Regions from separate parts of the Homo sapiens genome. Here region 2 is linked to region 1. Evidence: promoter capture Hi-C in 16 types of primary human blood cells and fetal thymus (Javierre and others, 2016). All regions are on one chromosome and are shown on one strand. Each heading gives the region's core, a stretch centred on a gene start or on the middle of the fragment in contact. The rest is flanking DNA. Distances are from core to core; before and after follow the strand shown. Region 1 holds the start of NBAS (NBAS subunit of NRZ tethering complex). Region 2 overlaps LOC105373436 (a long non-coding RNA gene).

Evidence for each region. The method cuts DNA at HindIII sites, captures the fragments that hold promoters and counts their contacts. A CHiCAGO score of 5 or more calls a contact.
Region 2: a contact is called between a fragment that was not itself captured here and the fragment with the promoter of NBAS in region 1, in 2 of 17 cell types (endothelial precursors and M2 macrophages). The highest score is 8.0, in endothelial precursors.

What each region holds. Positions count from the first base shown.
Region 1 is chr2:15,556,568-15,563,833 of GRCh38, reverse strand. NBAS (NBAS subunit of NRZ tethering complex) reads left to right here and starts at 2,500. Exons shown (of 52, transcript NM_015909.4): 1 at 2,500-2,646; 2 at 5,200-5,254; 3 at 7,015-7,051. The coding sequence starts at 2,530. LOC105373440 (a long non-coding RNA gene) reads right to left here and starts at 1,686. Exons shown (of 4, transcript XR_001739297.2): 1 at 1,651-1,686. RefSeq lists an enhancer at 2,301-2,710. The HindIII fragment of the contact is 4,253 bases long and covers 2,474-6,726 here.
Region 2 is chr2:13,034,295-13,041,488 of GRCh38, reverse strand. The region is part of intron 1 of LOC105373436 (a long non-coding RNA gene); the gene reads right to left. Among named protein-coding and RNA genes, the nearest start is that of MIR3125, 300 kb to the right of the region's middle. The HindIII fragment of the contact is 188 bases long and covers 1,757-1,944 here.

The sequences.
Region 1 (7,266 bases), core at 1,251-3,750:
CCACTGCACTCTGGCCTCAGTGAAAGAGTGAGACCCTGTTTCAAAAACAAAAACAAACAAACAAAAATAGTGTGATGATGGTAAAATAAATAAATTCTTCATGGTGTATTTGCAGTGGTCCCCTTTGCACACCAGCTAAGAAGGAAGCATCCTTTGCCAGTTTGACCAGCTATCTCCTGGCCGTGGTTGTACAGATTGAGTGAAAGTGGTGAAGAGAGTGATGAAACAGAAAGCAACCCCAATATCTATCTGAGAAAGGATGAGACAGAGGAATAAAGAGCCAAGGAAACTTGGTGTGGAGAAATAGGTGGGGTTGTACTGAGGTACTGGAGGACTCCAGTAACCAGCCCTCACACCGCATTCCATGTGCATGGTGTTCCTGCCTCTTCATGTTCTACCGCATGCAATGTGGGCGGGGCTCCCCGGAGGTATACAGTTTGTCAGCCTTGTGCGGTAGGGAGAAGACACGTCTGGTGTTCACAATGAGGGGTTTGATTGAAGGGCACAGCTGCTATGCAGAGAAATACTATGGGGAGACAATGTGTAAAAGATTTTCTGGGAAGTCTGTCATTTATTCAACAAATAATATATATTTTGTCCTCTGCTCTATGCCAGGCACTGTTATAAATTCTGGGGATATAGCAGGGATGGATATAGCATTTGCATGCATATAGATAGAGCACCTGGCATGGCTTACCTTTTAGTGAATGGAGACAGATAATAAGCAAATATACTGTATAGCCATTTAAGTGATGACAAGTGTAATGGAAAAAATAATAGAGCAGCTCTGGAAAGCTGGAGTTGGAGAATGGTCATTGCAAATTTAAAAATGAGCAGTCAAGGTAGGCTTCAGAGAGAGACGACATTTGAGCAAAAACTTGAAGGAGATAAGGGAGGAACCAGGTAAACATCTGGTAGAAAGCCTTCCAAGTGGAGGGGACAGGCTTTGCAGAACTCCTGAAGTTGATGTGTGTCTGGTGTGTTCAGAAATAGAGCCAGTGTGGCTGAAGGTAGTAGGGGGAGCAGGAAATGAGGTGTGAGATTTAGGGGAGCAGGCAGATGACGTAGGGCTTTGAGGTCATTAAACTTTGAGAGAAATGGGAGCTGGTTAGAGGCTTCCCAGCAGAGGCTTTTAATTGCATCACCGCCTAATGCATCTTGATGGATATCATGAATATAATTATCTCAAGGGATATTCAGTATTTGTGTTTCTTTTGATGTGAAACAGTGTAATACTTTGTACAGTATATATTCATTCATGTTACAGTAGGCTCTGCTTATAACTGTCCACAAAGAGGTATTTGTTGAATGAATGAATGAATGAACAAATGGGGTTGACCTTTTCGCTCCCTCCATGCGGGTTCTCAACCTATTATTTCAACTTTATTGCCCCTACACCCTTTCTCAACTTGGGTTCTATTCACCCGTCTTGTTGAGTACTAATTAGGAAAAAAAAAAAGGCAGGCTAGTGGGAGCAGGGAAAAACAAAGAGATAAGGCAAATTAGCTATACGTCTGTCTTTCTTCATGGTCCAAAACATATAAACAAAAGGAAGAAACAAATAAGCCATAGGTCTACTTTTCTTTATGGCCCAGGACATATGGCCCTTCTACCCAGATAACGTACTTAACTCACAAACTTCCTGCTTACCTTCAAATGCCTCAATTTCTGAAACACTTCAGCTGACAAAAAAAAAAAAAAAAAAAGAAAGAAAGAAAAAAAAAAAGCAAGTTAACTCCCTGCTACCTGGTGTTATCAATCACTCCAAGTTCCAGTCTATAAAATTCTCAACAAGCCTTTGTTTCCTAGCAATGAGCTCCTCCTCTGCTGAGTCGGCCCGCTGCTCCCTGGCAACGAACTTTCATACTTTCTTTAATCTGTCTTTCTTTATCTACCACTGTCTTGGTAAATTCTTTTACTCCCACACTGAGAAAGTCGTCACTCACTGGCGACACGTTGAAAGAGTTCTTTCAACTCTGTATTTCTGCCTCTGTCTCTGCTCATTCCATTTCCCGCTACTTGAAATGCTTCTCCAGTAGATTAAAATTCTGCCTATTGTTAAAGACGCAGGGACAAGCTCCACGTCCTCCAGGAAATCCCTGCAGACTCTGGCCTTCGTTGCCTTTTCTGAGCTCCTGTAGCATCCTTCCTCTGCTACCTTTCATTGGATAACTTTAGTTGTTTATTTTAAAACCACTGTTTGAACTCTCTCTACGTGTTAGGCAAAGAATATACAAATGAACATTAGCATTTCAGTGGGGTACCTTTACCATTTCTGTTTTATGGAAACTGAGTTATAAGAGAGGCTCAATGACTTGGCCGATCTCATGTAGATTAATGAACAAGGAGTGTATCAGGACCGGGACACAAGTCGTTCCCAAGACAAGCAATAGTCCCTGTCCTTCCTACTCATAAAAGGGTTAACCTAGCATTTCCTTGCCGTGAAACAAAAGCGGCCGCGGATAGAGAAGCTTGTCCTGTGAGGGATTCCGTAGAGACACTCCTCCGCTGCCTGAGTCCTCGGCGAACATGGCGGCCCCCGAGTCAGGGCCGGCTTTGAGTCCAGGCACTGCAGAGGGTGAGGAGGAGACGATTCTCTATGACTTGTTGGTCAACACCGAGTGGCCACCGGAGACTGAAGTACAGGTGAACCAGGCCCATCTACAGCAGCAGCCAGCTTGGCGCGGGCGCTTCGTGGGTAGAGCCACGTAGCAGGAGCCACGTAGGGGAGTGGAGACGGGTGGGTGGGGGACTAGGGCCGGTTGGCTTGTGCGGTCGCCTTGGCAACGGCACCTTGGGCTAGCGGGGGTCTAGGGCGGGGTGGGGTGGTGGTCCCTGAGATTCTTCCTGGGCTCAGAATTCGGTTGTTGGGGGCTGGAACTTCGTGCTCTGGGGAGCGTACGATCCCACTTTGGTTCTCAGTTTCGCTCTCTGTATTGGGAGGAGAGGGGATTGTTAGTGTCGCTCTCTGTATTAGGAGGGGAAGGCACAGCGCTGGACTCGAGGGTCCTTTCTCCTATCTGGACCCTCAGTGGTCCCTTCTCGCGGTCTGGCTAGGGCTAGTCTGGGCCGACGCTCAACTGCGATGGGAGAATTTTCCAGGACCTTACAGTCTGCAGCATCTGCCAGGCTGGTGCAGAGCGCAGAATCTGAGCCTTTACCCATACTGGGGGCTGGATCGCGCCAGGTCTTGTGTGTTTCAATAAAAGAGCATTTAATAAGGGTGTGCGTGTCCGTTCGTCTGTCTCGGTGTCACAGGTGCTGTGCTAGGTGCTAAGGATACAGAGATGAATATGTTTTCGTGGAGCTTCTCGTCTAGAGGGGAGACAGTCCCGTAAACGTTTTTCATAACCTAGCGTTTTATGCGCTATAGTTAGCGATGTGAGCAAAATGCCACGGAAGTGCAGAGTAAAGAGCTGCTGACTGGGATTGGGATCTCCGCTACAGAAGGGTTATAGAGGTTGATAATTTATGGACTGGATCTTGGGATTATCAGTTGTTTGGTAGTGAAGGCCTCCCGGGTCTGTGATGAAGAGTAGGAACCATGGATCCATGTTTATTTTATTTTATTTTTTATTATTATTATTTTTTGGATCCATGTTTATTTAACAGATATTTATTGAGTGCTTAACACGTGCCAGTTACTGTTTTAGACCCAGAGGAAGCAGCCAGATCGAAAAGAACCTTTATTAAAGATTATGTAGTCCAGCCCATGTGAGTTATCTTACATTTTTTCTGAGTGTTTCTTTGCTGGAGAAACGACTCATTTTTCAGCCCAAAGTTTGTATTTTTTTCCTCTGTAGCCTCCTTCCCACTGCAGTTTGTGCTTATCATGAATAATTTATTTTGTAGACGGGTAGAGATCTGCATATATTACTGTTTAATTTCAAGTACTTAGTTTGTCTTAATGTGAATATTTTTTGGGTTATGCAGCTAGGAAGCTGTTGCTGAGGCAGCTGGTTAGATAAGTTTCCACTCCTTAACACTCATTGGTTAATTGCAGTAATGTTTCAGAATGCTTACCATAAATTGATTCCAAAAAAGTAACCACAGAATTAACTTACTTTGAAACCCTTAGCACTTTGTTTTGTGTTTGTGTGTTGGGGGTGGGGGAGTTCAATTGATTTCTGCATTCTATCGATTTCTGCATTCTGTTGATTTCAGCTGTTGAATTATAAGCTCTTGGAGGGCAGACATCTGATTCATCTTTATATCTCTTCCCAGGGCCAAATTGTGTCTTGCATGAATCCAACAATCAATTCATGTTTATTGAGTGAAATAACTTTTCTGTGTTTTTTAAAAAAATCTGTCTACACTTACTGTATGTCCATTGTGCTTTTCTTGACAGCACTTTAGTGCATCTTATGCAGTGCCTAGCGTCATGAACCTACCCACGGTGTGTTCAGTCTATACTTATGGAATGGAATTATTTAATATAGCAATTACGTATCTGTGTATGTTTTGTTAGTAGCATTGTCTGTATAGATACACAACAGATAGTCAATGAATTGGCCTTGGAGATATGACCACTTTTCCTGTGAGCAAAACTTACAGCCTCAATAGAGTATGCTGAACTGGCAACCAGTATGGTCTTTGGCCTTGACTTCTCTTGTCTTTGGATTGGTTTTTGATTTGGAAACAGTTTCCAGCTTCAATCCTTGTTCTTTCCTGCAAGGTTAGTCCTGACATGTGCCTGTAGCTCTGCTATGCTCACTTTTCTCCTATTGTCCCGCGTCCTGTGTCTACTTTTTTTTTTTTTTTTTTTTTTTTTGAGGCAGGGTCTCACTCTGTCACCCAGGCTGGAGTGCAGTGGCATGATCAGGGCTCACTGTAGCTTCGTAGCTTCAACCTCCTGGGTCACCTCAGCTTCCCAAGTAGCTGGGACTATAGGCATGCACCGCCATGCCTGGCCAATTTTTGTATTTTTTGTAGAGATGAGGTTTTGCCACGTTGCTCAGGCAGGTCTGGAGCTCCTGGGCTCAAGCAGTCAGCCCACCTTGGCATCCCAAAGTGCTGAGATTACAGGCGTGAGCCACTGCACCTGAACATCCAGTCTTTAAGTAGTTTTAAGACACTGCTTCCCTGTGCCCAAAACTCTGAGTATTAGTAAATAAAAATAAGTTTACATATTGTATAAGTAATACTGGTCTAATACTACTAGAAGATTCAAATGTAAGTGTTTTTTGTTTTAAATTCCAGCCTAGAGGCAACCAAAAACATGGTGCATCCTTTATCATCACGAAAGCAATTCGAGGTAAATATAGCTTATTTCTCTACAGTAATGATATGGTTAACAGTTAAAATGTGTTCTTTAGACTTCTGATGTGGAGCCTAATAAAAGTAATGTGTGTTATCTGAGTTTAATTATATATATATTTATATATACACACATATGTATGTATATGTATACATTTGTATATTTACGCATGCACGTTTTTAGCTCTAATGCAGCTTAGAGCTAAAGTATATAGCTTTGGTTTAACCATTATGGATGTATTCTAGAACAGGTGTCCTCAATTCCTGGGCCATGGACTGGTACCAGTCTGTGGTCTGTTAGGAAACAGGCTGCATAGCAGGAGGTGAGCGATGGGTGAGTGAGCATTACCACCTGAGCTCCACTTCCTGTCAGATAAGCGGCAGCATTAGATTATCAGGGAAGTGCAAACCCTATTGTGAACTGCACGTGTGAGGGATCTAGGTTGCATGGAAAAATTGTCTTCCACAAAACCAGTCCCTGGTGCCAAAAAGGTTGGGGGACGCTGTTCTAGAAGGAATGAAGGTCAAAGCCAGTATGAGTCTCAGAAAGTCAGTGGATGTTGAAGGTGAAAATACACTGAGAGACTATTTTAAGAGGTCTATGTGGTGTTTCAGATAGATCTGGTCAGAGATACTCAAATTACAGATTTGATAAGCCAGGGTATTCATTTAACTCCTGACAAATTTTACGTATGAACTAACAAGAGTCTGAGAAAGGATTGAGCACTAGGTTTACTGAGCTGGTGCCATGACGGGTTTACCATATTCATTAATAGAGTCCTTTTATCAGACCAGAAAGGTGCCGTTACTCCTTTATGATTTTAGATAAGAAAACTTGCTCAAGGTCATTCATTTGGAATTTGACTGCATGTCTTTCTGGCTTCAAAGTCCATCCTTATACCAGTGAATTTAAGTTCCTTATAAAGAGAAAATTCATTTTCACAGAAGTTAAGTACTTGAAATTAACTGTAATCTTCTGATTATCCTTTTATCTTCTGATAAAATTACAGTTAATTATAGTTAATTTTATCTTCTGATACAAGAAGCACTAGCATATTCAGTTTTCATAATGACAAATGCTTTTAAATTTTGAGAATTTAGAAAATGTGTACAAATAATAAAAATTCATTGTAGAAAATACAGACACTATAGATAACTACAAATTAGAAAAAAATTTGTCCTCATACCACCTAGAGAGAATCTGTTATTCTTTAGATATTTTTCCATTGATATATACCTAACTGCATACACAGGTACACACATACATGTACATTTAGGATGATAGAAAGCATTGTTTTTTATAGCGTGTTAGAGGTTTTGTTTTCCGTGGGCTTTCCCATTTTAGGTATTACTGTTTTAAAAATCTTTGCTATAAAGTGTAAAATATATCTTGCTTTAATTTTTTATACAAATATTTTGGTTTCTAAGGGGTGATTATTATAACTTCTAGTCCATGGTTTCATGAAAGCTTCTTAGATTAAATTTAACATCTCAAACTGCTTTTATTTCTTGAACAGTTAGGAAATACTTGAAACTTTTGAATAACACACAAACATGGAATTTAATAAGTATATGACCCTGTAAATGTTACAGTGTATATTAGGTTATATTTAGTCTCTCATTTTAAGACTTGAGTTCTTTATTTTTTTTAATGACTCGCTCTGTAGTATATTTTAGATTTCTCATCTATAAATCTAATTTGAAAATGATTCTTAACAGCTGATTTATATTTGGCTTTGCCATTTCTTTTGATTACAGATCGTTTATTATTTTTACGCCAATACATCTGGTACAGGTGAGTCTTCGGTTCTTCAGAGAAACAGTATGAACATCAAATATAAACAATATTGTTCTATATATGATTTGTTTTCATAATTGAATTCTAGATCATGATAAAGTTGCTGACATTCAGGCAAACTCAGTATGAGACATTTCAAACATTTAGGTAGAATCTGACAAGATATCTCAGTAGACTTAGGGTAGTTTTTGTTCCCTTAGTTACTATTAAGA
Region 2 (7,194 bases), core at 601-3,100, 2.5 Mb after region 1:
CAGCTGTAAGTTCAGTCTTTTAATGCAATGCCATAGTTCTTGGAGGTTTTATGCATTCCTTATCATTATTTTTTCTCTAATCTTGTCTGCCTACCTTATTTCAGCAAGATAGTCTTCAAGCTCTGATATCCCTTCTTCAGTTTGGTCTATTCGGCTATTGATATTTGTGTTTGCATTGTGAAGTTCTCACGTTGTGTTTTTCAGCTCCTTCAGGTTATCTATGTTCCTCTCTCAACTGGTTATTCTGGTTAACAACTCCTCTGATGTTTTATCATGGTTCTTAGCTTCTTTGCAATAAGTTAGAACGTACTCCTTTAGCTAAGTGAAGTACATTATTACCCATCTTATGAAGCCTACTTTTGTCAGTTCAACCATCTCAACCTCAGCCCAGTTCTGTGCCATTGAGGGAGATGTGTTGTGATCATTTGGAGAATAGGCACTCTGCCTTTTAGAGTTTTCAGCACTTTTACACTGATTCTTTCTCATCTTCTTGGGTTCATCTACCTTTGATCTTTGAGGCTGCTGACCTTTGGATGGAGTTTTTGTGGGGTCTTTTTCATTGATGTTGTTGTTGTTGTTGTTGCTTTCTCTTTGTTTTTCTTTTAGCGGTCAATGCCCTTTTCCATAGGGCTGCTGCAGTTTGCTGAGGGTCCACTCCAGACCCTGTTTTCCTGCGTCCCTCCTGCTCCTGAAAATATAACTAATAGAGGCTGCAGAACAGCAAAGATGGCAGCCTGCTCCTTCTTCTGGGAGCTCTGTCCCGGAGGGGCACAGACTTGATGCCAGCTGGAACGCTCCTGTATGAGGTGTCTGGAGACTCCTGTTGGGAGGTCTCACCCAGTCAGGAGGACAGGGATCAGGGACCTGCTTAAATAAGCAATCTGACTGCCCCTAGTTGGAGCAGGTGTGCTGCGCCATTGCCTGGGCTGCCCTGACTCTCCAGAGCCAGTAAGCAGGCAGATAAGACTAAGATTCATGATACTGCAGCTGCACCTCCTCCTAGGGGCTCCTCTCAGGGATATCAGAGTTTTGTTCATAAATGCCTGCCTGGGGATGCTGAATTTCCTGCAGGGAGGTCCCACCCAGTGAGGGGGAGTGGATCAGGGTCCTGCTTAAGGAAACAGTCCAGCCACGAACTGCCCCAGCCGCTGTGCTGCACTGTGGGGAATTGCTCCCAGTACAAACCGCGCTGGCGCTGGCGGCAGGGGAAAACAGCCGACTAGAGGCGCAGTGATGGTGGCTGTCCCTGCCCCCTGGGAAACTCGGGGTCTCAGTGCCTGCTCCAGCCGCCGCCTACCTGAGCAGCCGCCAAGAGTCTGCACTGCTCTATGCTTGGGAGCCAAGAATCCTGGTTGGTGTGGGCTCACAAGGGGACCGCCTGATTTGCAGGTTGCAAATCAGGAGGGATCTCCTCCAGCCAGATCTGTGGGAAAAGTGGGGTTTTCAGGGAGAAGGAGCAAAATCCCTCACCGCCTCCCTTGGCTGGAAGAAGGAGCTCCCTTTGCCTCGTGCAGCTCCCAGGTGAGCCCTTGCTCCACCCTCCTTTTCCTCGCTCTCCGTGGGTCGCCATAACCACTTGGTTCTCATGAGCGATCCTTGGTACCTCAACTGAAGATGCAGAATTCACTCACTGTTTTTATCCTTTTTGGTGGGAGCTGCAGAGCAAAGCCATTTCTATTCGGCCGTCTTGGCTGCTCCAACAATTTCTTTAAAATAGCATCCAAGAGAATAAGTTTAACAAAGGAAGTGCAAAGCTTATACTCTGAAAACTAAAAATATTGTTTGAAGTCATTAAAGGAAAACTAAATAAACGGAAATATATCCTATATTCATGGATGAGATGACTTAATAATTTTAAGACAGCAATACTCCTCAAATTCATCTATATGCTCAATGTAATTCCTATCAAAATCTTAGCTGAACTTTTGCAGAAATTGACAAGCTTATTCTAAAATTCATATATAAATTCAAGTGACCAAGAGTAGCCAAAACAATGTTGAAACAGAAGGACAAAGTAGGAGGATTCCACTTTGCTATTTCAAAACGTACCAAAAAGCTACAATAATAAAGACAGTGTAGCAGTGGCATCAGGATCAATATGCAGATCAACGGCAAAGCACTGAGGGTCCATAATTCACCCTTCCCATTTACAATCAATGGATTTTTGACAGCATATTCCACAGGGAAACAAGGAGAAAGTAGTATTTCCAGCACATGGTGCTGGGATAACTGGGTATCCACATACAAAAGAATGAAGTTGATACCTACTTCATACAACATGTAAAAACTAACTTAAAATGCATTAAAGAATTTAATAGAAGAGATAAAACTATAAACTCTCAGAAGAAAACATTGGGATATTTGTGACCTTGGATTAAGCAGTGGTTTCTTAGATGAAACATTTAAACGTTTATCCAAATTCCGAAGTAAGGAAACTGGTTACAGAGAACCATGTATTGTAGGATTCTGCTAATAGGAAACATCCAGAATAGGCAAATCTATAGATGCAAAGTATATTAGTAATTGAGGGAACACATCAAATTTTTAAAAATCCACTTAGGGCCTCGGCAGTTTAGTCGTGATAGAATTCTTATAGCTTGAGAACTGATAGAACCTGAGTAAATAATCAGATTTGTAAGAGGCACCAGTGGAAGTGAATAGCATAGTAACAGCCAGATCATTGCAGGCTGCTAGAGCTTCACCACTAGGATCAGAGGCACTGGCATCCCACAAAATCTGGTGAACTAGCAGCTGGATTTGACCTGAGACTAAATAATGAATTTTTCTGGTAAAAGACGATCTGGCAACTGGGTCCTATTGCAAGACTTTATCAGAGTCTGCATTTTTGACAAGTGGCAACAAAGAAACAATAAGAATGTCTGACGTATGGACAAGTATAGGCAAACTTAGGGATTCTCAGAAATATTGAGGGCATTGCGCTTTGGGAAAGAGACTAGAGTTTCTGTTAATTTGGCAAGATAGAACTAGTATCATTAGAGTATTAAAGAAAATGTGATATTGATACACACTGGCAGGGTCAGGAACATGGTGGTAACATATTATTTATAGTCTTCATATTAATCCTTCAATGTATATTATGTGCCTTTTACAATTTAAGAACGAGACTCATAGAGGTTAATACATTGCCCAAAGTAGTAGGCTAGTAAGTGAAGGTGTATGCATTTAAACTCATACTTATGAAGACAAAGTCTATTATCTTTTGACTGGACTAAGGAGTCCAGGCTGTTCTATAGGATCATTAATGTTTATGGATATTGAGGTCCTTGAAAAATCATTACAATCCTATGCCTTGGGCAAAATTTCAAAAGTTCTTCCTGTTACACATATCAGCAATACCCCAAGCATTCTTTAAAAATAGATGGTTCAAAATAACTATTTTATTAGACTCATTTATTACTGTAAAGTTCTTTTAATTTAGAATTCAATTATTCCAATGTGAGACCCAATTATTCATATTCAGTCTCCCTCAGAGTATGGGAATAAATACATACATTATTTGGTGTTTCATATTTAGAAGGATTGCAAGTGTTGCTCTGAAATAACTAAAGTGAATATTGGCTGAATTTCCTTGTGACACAAATAAGAAAATTTCCTTCCTGTTCACACATGACCACATTTGCATAATGCATAGACGTCAAATATCCATTAAGCAAAAATACATAAGACATGTTTTGGTAACATTTAATACAAATGCTACTTCTTAAATGAAACTTTTTAGCCCTTTCAGAATTCTGTGTTAGCCCTTTGAGAATTCAGTGGTTTTCTTGTCTTCTTCTTATTTCTTCAACATTTCCCGATTATCATTGTCCTCACTCCAAAGAGAAGGATAACTTGGAAATGCTCTGAAATCTGGAGCTGCGGTTTTGCTACGCTCTGTGACCTCCGCATTCCAAAGCCAGCACAGTTAATAGTTCAGAAAATGTTATAGAATTGGTTTACTTAGGTTGAGTTTAAATAATTTATTTTTTATTTTATTTCATTATTATTATTATTTATATATTTTTTGAGATGGAGTCTTGCTCTGTTGCCCTGGCTGGAGTGCAATGGTGCAATCTTGGCTCACTGAAACCTCTGCCTCCCGAGTTCAAGTGATTCTCCTGCCTCTACCTCCCCGGGTAGCTGGGATTACAGGCATGTGCCACCACGCCTGGCTAATTACGTGTTTTTAGTAGAGATGGGGTTTCTCCATGTTGGTCAGTCTGGTCTCGAACTCCCAACCTCAAGTGATCCGCCCATCTTGGCCTCCCAAAGTGCCGGAATTACAGGCATGAGCCACCATACCCGGCCTAAATAATTTATTTTTTTAAAAAATGCTTTCAATATTAGGCATATTTTGATTCCTGTTTACACTGGGTAGAATTTGATAGAATTCTTATGATCGCCGACTAAAACAAAGACGAACAAGTCAGCAGCCTGTGAACTTGGAAAACTGTGAACCCTGTTTTTCTACTCTCAGCTCTAACATAATGAACGCTTCTTGAAGAACAGACTCACTGTTAGTGCTGGGGGTGTTTATTTATCCTTTTTCGCCTGTATCCCGTTTGCCTGGCTGGAGATAGCTCTTGCAGTAGGAACCTTTGTCAGGGGATGCATGCACTTTTACAAAGTGGAAAAGAATGCTCCCCATCAGTACTTTGAGTTAACTGTTTCCAACAATCTGTTTTTTTTCTGTGCTGTCAGTTATGATATATCTTTCATCATACAGCTTATGTGAAACCTCTTTGAGAAACTCTGACCTAACAATCAAATTGGACTCATTGCCCTTCAGTGTTTTCATTGTAACCAATAATGCCTTTTATCAAAGTTGTTATTAAGTTGAATTGCAGTTTCCTATTAATATGTCATCTCCCTCGTTAAGTTGTAGATTTTGGGGCAAAAGAATTGTGCTCAGATAGAGCTTAGAGAGGTTGGGATAAATACCCAAGCCTTGAATTCAGCTGACCAGAAAAAAACTTTCATGATTGACTCATTAATCAAAATTAAGCATTTTTAGTTTAGTTTAGAACAGCTTATTTAATAATCACCCTTTATACTTGTGTGGAGCTGTTTTATTCAGATTTTTAGAATGATAATTTCTTCTTTTGATGATAATCTGTTTCTACATAAATTTATCAGTTACATAGTCCACATAAAAGAGTGTGTAATTTCACTTAATAATTCCCTGTGCCTCTGCAGGATCTTAATTCTCAATTTTTTTAAGCATTATGTTTTTTCTATTTGTTCAAATGATAAACTCAAATCATCTATTTTTCATTGTGTGTTACCCTTTGGCTCCTAATCCTTTGATATACACTACGGGATCAGCCCCACAGCTTTAATCCCATGGGATTGAGCAGAACGAGGCTTTAGAAATCTAACTAACTAAACACCCTCCTGCGCATTCACACACTTGGTGGGTGGACCCCTCTCAATTTCCAGGTAATATGTGATTCTTCTCTGCCACAAGTCTGTAGTCCCACACATAACCTCAGAATTTCTACTCTATTTTCCACCTCCTGTTTTTCTCCTGTTAAAGCCAATTTAGTCTACCTACTTAAGAGACTCCAATCTCTCCTACACTTCTAAGAGCTATTCTGGAAAGTTGAGAAGTAACTTCTTCCCACATGTTTTATTCCCTTAAGCTCTCTGATGGTTAATACTGAGTGTCATCTTGATTGGATTGAAGGATGCAAAGTATTGATTATGGGTGTTTCTGTGACGGTGTTTCCAAAAGAGATTAACATTTGAGTCAGTGGGCTGGAGAAGGCAGACCCACCTTTAATCTGGGTGGGCACCATCTATTAGCTGCCAGCCAATGTAATGCAGGCAGGAAAAACATGAAGAGGCAAGACTGGCCTAGACTCCCAGCCTACATCTTTCTCCACGCTGGATGCTTCTTGCCCTTGAACGTCGGCCTTCAAGTTCTTCAATTTTGGGACTTGGTCCTCAGCTTGCAGATGGCCTATTGTGGGACCTTGCGATCGTGTGAGTTAAAACTTAATAAACTCCATATATATATATATATGTGTGTGTGTGTATATATATGTGTGTGTATATATGTGTGTGTATATATGAGTGTATATATATATACATATATACACACATATATACACACACATATATATACACACACACACACACACATAAATATGTTATTTTCCCCTGACAGTGGGAACAAGACAAATATATATATATATATATGTGTGTGTGTGTGTGTGTATATATATATATGGATATATATATAGAGAGAGAGAGACCATATATATATATATAATCTCCTATTAGTTCTGTCCCTCTGGAGAACCCTGACTAATACAGGCTCTTCCCACAGGCATGTAATAATAAAAACATGCTCAATTATTTCCAACACAAAACAAACAAGTAAAACCCTATCTTCTTTCCATCATTCCTTAGGCCTCTTGCCATGTTTTCCCTTCCTTTTTTAGCCATAAAGGCCAAGAGACTTGACCTCATTCACCCACCATCTTCCTTCCTACTCCACAATCTGCATACCAAACGCAGTATTTCTCTCAAATTGTTCTCTCTAAAATCAACATTGAACTCTTCTCATTAAATCTAAGGGCTTTTTCTGTCTGTCATATTTGTATTTTAGGAAGCATTTTTAATCAGTTGATAACTCTCTCTCTCTTTGAAAGCCACTGTTTTCCCTCATCCCTTTTTATTGAGGATAAAATCAACAGTAAAGCGTCAAAATCCTAGGCAAACCACTCAATATTTAATTTAATTTTAATTTTAATTTTAAGTTCTCAGGTACATGTGCAGGATGTGCAAGTTTGTGACATAGGCAAACATGTGCCATGGTGGTTTGCTGCACCTCTCAACCCATCACCTAGGTATGAAGCCCGGTATGCATTAGCTCAATAAATGTTAAACACCTGTACATCCATAAAACTACCTCACAAATCAAAACTTAGGACATTTCCAGCACCCCGACAGTTGCTCACAGACATTCCAAAATTTACCCACTACCCTGGCTCTTTAACCTTAGATTAGTTTTCCATAGTTGTGAATTTCACATAAATAGAATCATATGGTATTTATTCTTCATTGGAGGCCTTGTTACTCTACAGTATTTCTAAGATTCATCCATATTGCTGCATGTAGGAGTAGTACATAGTATTTCATAATTGTATATCTTTTTCAGTGAGAAAATATAAATGATCTATTCTACAG